Linked DNA regions of Homo sapiens: region 1 is linked to region 2. Evidence: promoter capture Hi-C in human tissues and cell types (Jung and others, 2019). All regions are on one chromosome and are shown on one strand. Each heading gives the region's core, a stretch centred on a gene start or on the middle of the fragment in contact. The rest is flanking DNA. Distances are from core to core; before and after follow the strand shown.

Region 1 (3,172 bases), core at 38-2,537, 890 kb before region 2:
AAAATTAACTGTAAGCACACCCCACCAAGTTAGAGCTACTTTAAATAAAAAAGCAGGAAGGTGCTCACTGACTCCAGAATCTTGAAATACTGAAATTGAATCTTGAAAAATTAAAATATGAGGCTATTCTACTAGAAAAAAGATGAATTTAACCTTAACTACTGATAATTCACTCAACCCAGCAGGTTTCTTGACAGGAGACCCAAATCTAAAAAGAGAACACCTATGTTTAGATTTAATTGACTACCAAATGAAGGTCAGGCCAGATCTAGGAGAGACCCCTTTCAAAATGGGGCGATGCTTATTTATAGATGGTTCCTCCCAAGTAATTAAAGGAGAAAGGCATAATGGGTATTCAGTAATTGATAGAGAAACTCTTGAAGAAATAGAGTCAGGAAGGTTGCCCAATAGTTGATCTGCCCAAGTTTGTGAACCATTTGCCCTCAGCCAGGCTTTAAAACACTTACAGAACAAGGAAGAAACTATTTATACTGATTCTAAGTATGCCTTTGGAGTAGCACATACATTTGGAAAAATTTGGCCTGAGAAACCTCTTATTAATTTTAAAGGCCAAAATCTTGCCCATGAAGAGCTAATCATCCATGTTTTAAACAATCTCCAGTTGCCAGAAGAAATAGCCATTGTACATGTCCCCAGACACTAAAAAGACTTTTCCTTTACAAGTTGGGGAAATAACCTTGCAAATCAAGCAGCTAAGCAGGCTGCTGTTTCATCTGAAACACCTATCTTTCACTTAACTCCTTGTCTTCCTCCCCCTGCTGCAACCTCTATCTTCTCTGCTGCAGAAAAGGAAAAATTAATAAGAATAGGAGCCAAAGAAAACTCAGAAGGAAAATGGGTGTTACCAGATCAATGAGAAATACTATCCAAACTCGTCATGAAGGAAATCCTGTCCCATCTGCATCAAGGGACCCACTGGGGACCCCAAGCTATGTGTGATGCAGTTCTCAGGGTTTATGGGTGTTCAGGAACTTATACTGTAGCCAAACAGATTAAAGATAGTTGCTTCATATGTAAAAAAAAAAAACCCAACAAACAAGTTACAAAGAAATCGCCCCTTGCGGGGAGGGATCCAGGGCTAAGACCATTCCAAAGTGTTCAAATTGACTACACTGAAATGCCCCCAATCGGTCGCCTAAAGTACTTATTAGTAACAGCAGATCACCTTACTCATTGAGTTGAAGCTATTCCCTTTTCAAATGCAATGGCCAATAATGTAGTTAAAGCATTAACTGAAAAGATAGTGCCCAGGTTTGGACCAATAGAAAATATTGATTCAGACAATGGAACCCATTTCATAGCACATATCATTAAAAAGCTATCCCAAGCCCTAGACATTAGATGGGAATATCATACTCCTTGGCACCCACCTTCCTCAAGAAGAATAGAAAGGATGAATTAGACCTTAAAGAACCACATAACCAAATTAGTTCTAGAGACTCAGTTGCCATGGACCAAATGTCTTCTTATTGCCTTTTAAGAATCTGAGCTGCTCCTTGGAAAGATATTGGCCTTTCTCCTTATGAGATGCTCTAATTGCCTTATTTACACTCCACTGCTGGCATTCCTACATTTGAAACAAAAGATCAATTCCTCAGGAATTATATACTTGGTCTCTCCTCTACTTTCTCTTTTTTTAAAAACCAAAGGTCTCCTAGCACAGGCGCCGCCCCTGGAGTTCCCAGTACATCAACATCAGCCTGGGGATCATGTCCTCATCAAAAGCTAGAAAGAAGAAAAACTTGAGCTGTCCTGGGAAGGACTTCACCTAAGTGCTTCTAACCACTGGAACCACAGTCCTGATAGCAGAAAAAGGATGGACCCATCACACCTGAGTCAAGAAAGCACCACCACCTCCGCAGTCATGGGCCATTGTCCCAGGGGAAAACCCCCTCAAACTAAAGCTAAGTTTAACTCTCTTTCATCTATTCTATTACTCTTTCTTCTTTTCTCATTCTATTGCTGACCACCTTGTTATCAATGTAACTAAATCAAACTCCCCCAAAGTTATTACGTTTGATGCTTGTTTAGTCATACCCTGTAGAGATCTTCAAAGTCAAAGGAAACTCTTAGCCTTAGAAAAGTATCTCTGCCCCTTTAAAATAGAGGTTCCCCCTACCAAGACTCTTGCTCTTTAACAAATATAGAGAAACAGGTCTGCCATAGCAGGAATGATGTTCTGTGGACAACCAAATATCAAGGCTAGACCTCATTGACAGGTGGTTGTGTATCCTTAAAACCATACATTCACTTTACTAAAGAAAGCACCTCCAACCCCAATTGCCAGTATAACCAATGTAATCCAGTGCAAATTTCAATTCTCACTTCCACCTCTACCGACCCTAGACCTACTTTGAGCCGCTTCTACAGCATGGGAGCCAACTTGGCTGGCACAGACCTCATAGGGACTTTTGAAATGCATTTTATTAATCCCTCATCCTCTTCACCCCCTTTCCTCTCTTCTCCTTCTAAGCCTTCTTCTAATCAAACTGCTATCCCCTCTATACCCAATGATAAGACTAAGGTAGATATTGTAGAAGTAAATGATTTAAGGCAAACTTTAGCAATTGAAACAGGATATCAAGATGCAAATTCCTGGTTGGAATGGATCAAATATTCTGTCCACATGTTAAACAAAAGCAATTGTTATGCTTGTGTGCACGGCCAGCCAGAGGCCCAGATTGTCCTCTTTCCACTTGGATGGTCCGCTAGTCAACCAGGCATGGGCTGCATGATAGCTCTCTTCCAGGATTCTACAGCTTGGGACAATAAATAATGCCAAGCTCTCTTTCTGCTCTATCCTGAAATCCAACACCCTGCGGGTCAGCCCCCGAAGGCCATCCAGCTTCCATCTCCCAACGTCAATTTCACCTTGTGTCTCTCACAACAAGGGGAAAACTTGGCATTCCTTGGAAGCTTAACAGGATGCAGTGAGCTTAAGCCCTTCTAGAAGCTTACCCATCAGTCTGCCCTTAGCCATCCTCGAGCAGATGTGTGGTGGTATTGTGGCAGACCCTTACTGGACACTCTGTCAAGTAACTGGAGTGGTACTTATGCTCTTGTCTAATTGGCTATCCCTTTCACCCTGGCATTTCATCAACCAGAAAAAGAAAAAATGCAACACCATAAAATAAGAGAAGCCCCTTATGGG
Region 2 (3,524 bases), core at 263-2,762:
TTAGTAGATACTGGGTTTCACCATGTTGGCCAGGTTAGTCTTGAACTCCGGACCTCAGGTGATCCACCTTCCTAGGCCTCCCAAAGTGCTGAGATTATGGGCATGAGCCACCGCGTCCTGCCAGGAAATCCATTTTCTAAGTCCTAACTTTTAAGCACTGGCAACCAATCCCAAAGTTTCTTCAAACACAATGTGGGCCAAATAACACGTGTGGGAAGTTCAAGCCTAAAGTACAAACTCCGGAGAGCAACACAAATATGGCTTGGACGTGGCCTGCCTCTTTCATCTCCCCTAATACATGCGGCGTACCAGCCACTCTGAAGGGATCCCCTTCCGCCTTCCTGGCCTTTGCCCAGACGGTTCCCTCCTCGTGAAACACCCTCTACCACTTCCTTGGCATCTTCAAGACCCTCATTAAATACCATGTCCTCCCCTTGAGGAATCTTCCTCATCCCCACAGCCATTCTTTGGGTTTCCTCCTTTCAAGCCGTGGCGTAACTGGGTCAGATATTTCTTTGTACCCCCCAAAGGAAGAAAGGGGAACTAATTTGAAGTTCTGAAGACTTTATCTATGTTATTCCCATTTAATCCTCACACCAGGTCCGCAAAATGGGCGTCACCTTTATCTTCTCCCTACAGAAAACAAAGCCACGTCTCAGAGAGGTTAGGGGAATCCCCCAAGGTCACACAGCTCTGCGGAGTGGGGCAGAATCTGGAATAAAGGTCGGGTCAGTTTCCAAAAGCCAGGGCCCCTGCTGCTCTAGCTATTCTGCAGCTCTGAAAGTTTCACCTCGTTCCAGGAAAGCATTTCGTTCAAAAAAATCCAGCCTTGAAAATATTAGGTGTGCGCGCGCCCGTGCGCGCAAACACACACACACAACACACACGCTATATACAGATACACACAGACACACACATTATGTGTATGTATATACTAGCAGATACCATCTATTAATATTACTGAAACAAGTTATCGCAGAGAAGTGACAAGCATGGAGACAGCCGCACACCCCTCGGAACCGGTCCCCTCCACCAGCCTGCCCTGCCTTCGCCCGTGCCTTGACCCGCAGTCGCACCGCAGGACAAAATGTCCCCTTTTCCTTCGGAAAGCAGAAGCCAGTGTAAATGCAACCGGGAGAACCAGAGAAGGGAGTTGCAAGGCCGCTTCCGCCGGGCCGCCCTGAGAAGGAGCGGGGTGAGCTAGTCCAGCGCGCGTACCCGGAGCGACCCCGGCGTGCGCGGCGCCTCCCTGCGCAGGCGTGCGGCGTGCGGCCCGCGGCGTGCGGCCCGCGGCTGTTCCCGGCGCGGATACTTACTGCGCGGCGGGGCGTGCAGGTCGCATCGATGTCGGTGCGCAGGCCACGGCGGCCGCAGAGTGGGGCCAACTCTGCCGGCCGCGGGACCCGGGTGAGGGTCTGGGCCTGGGCTGGGCTGGGTGACGCCAGGAGGCCGGCTACTGCGCGGCGCCCGAGAGTCCACATGCTGCTCCGGGTCTGCCGCCCGCTCCGCCCTCCAGCGCTGGGTGCTGCGGCGACCCCTGGTGGCCACTGGCCGCAGGCACTCTTCTGTGGGGGAGCAGCTAGAGGTTAGACCTCAGGAAGAACTTCCCAGCTTAGCACTATTCGTGCATTTAACAAAAATGGAGAGCCTGCTTTGTGCAAAGCACGGAGTGCAACCAGGACCCCTGACCCAAGGGAGACTGCAGCCTGGTGGCCCGCCGCTTCTAAAATTCTAAACAGGAGGAACTTGGGAGCTGCTGTCTTGCTGGGAAGTGGGTGCATGCACAAATTGAGGCTGCTTGGCCGCCGGTATGGGTTTACAGCAGTTGGGTATGTGGGGCCAGGAGACGGATGCCTTGTGTAAATCTGTACTCTGCCCACTTCCTAGCTGTGTGACCAGAGGGCAAGTTAATTAACCTCTCTGTGCCTTGTTTATAAAATGCGTTTTATAAAAGTTCCTACTTCATAGGATTGTGGTAAGGATAAAATGAGTTAAGCCCTGTAAAGTTTTTTTTGGACAGGGCATGTTCCTGTTAAGTGCACAATAAATATTGTTAATAGATTTTATTGATTGATTGATTGATTGAGACGGAGTCTCGCTCTGTCGCCCAGGCTGGAGGGCAGTGGTGCGATCTCGGCTCACTGCAAGCTCTGCCTCCCGGTTTCACGCCATTCTCCTGCCTCAGCCTCCCGAGTAACTGGGACTACAGGCGCCCGCCACCATGCCTGGCTAATTTTTTGTATTTTTTTTTTTTTTTAGTAGAGACGGGTTTCACCGTGTTAGCCAGGATGGTCTCGATCTACTGACCTCGTGATCCACCCGCCTCATTTATTTGTTTGTTTGAGACAGAGTCTCACTCTGTTGCCCAGGCTGGAGTGCAGTGGTGTGGTCCTGGCTTACTGCAACTTCTCCCTCCCGGGCTCAAGCAGTCTTCCCATTTCAGCCTTCCAAGTAGCTGGGACTACAGGTGTGCACCACCACACCCAGCTAGTTTTTGTATTTTTTGTAGAAAGGGGGTTTCGCTATGTTGCCCAGGGTGGTCTTGAACTTCTAGGCTCAAACGATCTGCCCGCCTGGGCCTCACAAAGTGCTGAGACGACAGGCGTGAGCCACCGTGCCTTGCCTATTGTTGATAGATTTTAAAAGAGAATTTTATTTCTGTTACATATTACAAAGGGATGCAAATTGTGAAAGTTTTCTTCACATTTTATATATGCTTTAGAGGATGTCAAATGTGAGCCGAGTGTGGTAGTGCATGCCTGTGATCTCAGCTACTCAGGAGGCTGAGGCGGGAGGATCACTTGAGCCTGGGAGCTCAAGGCTGCAGTGAGCTATGATTGTGCCTGTGAATAGCCACAGCATTCCAGCCCGGCCATCATAGCAAGATACTGTCTTAAAAAAAAAGAAAATGTCAGTTGTGTACACTTTCCATGGCAGAGAAGATGGGAAGGTACTAAAGTTCTTCCAAAGCCACTTTGTGAATCGTGAAGAGAGACATGTTTACATACTTAGGATGCTAAATGACAAGTGTCAAGAGGAATGTAAACTAACAGGTGTGAGTGTTGAGTGGGAGATTTATATAGAGCTAGGGATGGGGGAATCAAGGAAGTATTCATGGAAGAAGTGGTGTTGGCACAGGGCCTTCAAAAATAGGGTGGAGGAGGTGGGATCTGATTGCCTATCAAAGAGGTGGTCCAGGGCATTCTGGATGAGAGACATCCTTCTGTGTTTAATTAATTCTAGGCAGCTGCTTAAATACTGTTATGTATATGCCAGGCCTGGAGAAATCATTTTCCCCCTGCAAAGTATCTGGAGATGCTTTTGATTGTCACAACAGGCAGCTGTGGGGTGGGTATGTTCTACTGGCATCTAGTAGGTAGAGGCCAGGGATGAAACATCCTGTGATGTGCAGGACAGCCCCCCACCTGTGCAACAAAGAACTATCCAGTCCAAAATTCTGCCAAGATTGAGAAGCCCTCCTTGAAACCATAAAGGGAGAGCCCATAGGCATCAAAGGGTAGTGT

What was found. The method cuts DNA at HindIII sites, captures the fragments that hold promoters and counts their contacts. A contact is called where the count stands out against the background at its distance.
Region 1: a fragment that was not itself captured here is called in contact with the fragment with the promoter of FXN in region 2 in 1 of the 25 tissues and cell types used here (dorsolateral prefrontal cortex).

The regions. Positions count from the first base shown.
Region 1 is chr9:69,926,530-69,929,701 of GRCh38, reverse strand. No RefSeq gene overlaps it. Among named protein-coding and RNA genes, the nearest start is that of CFAP95, 110 kb to the right of the region's middle. The HindIII fragment of the contact is 3,339 bases long and covers 1-2,956 here.
Region 2 is chr9:69,033,740-69,037,263 of GRCh38, reverse strand. FXN (frataxin) reads right to left here and starts at 1,512. Exons shown (of 5, transcript NM_000144.5): 1 at 1,317-1,512. The coding sequence starts at 1,481. RefSeq lists silencers at 277-571, 1,154-1,623 and an enhancer at 944-993. The HindIII fragment of the contact is 19,714 bases long and covers 1-3,524 here.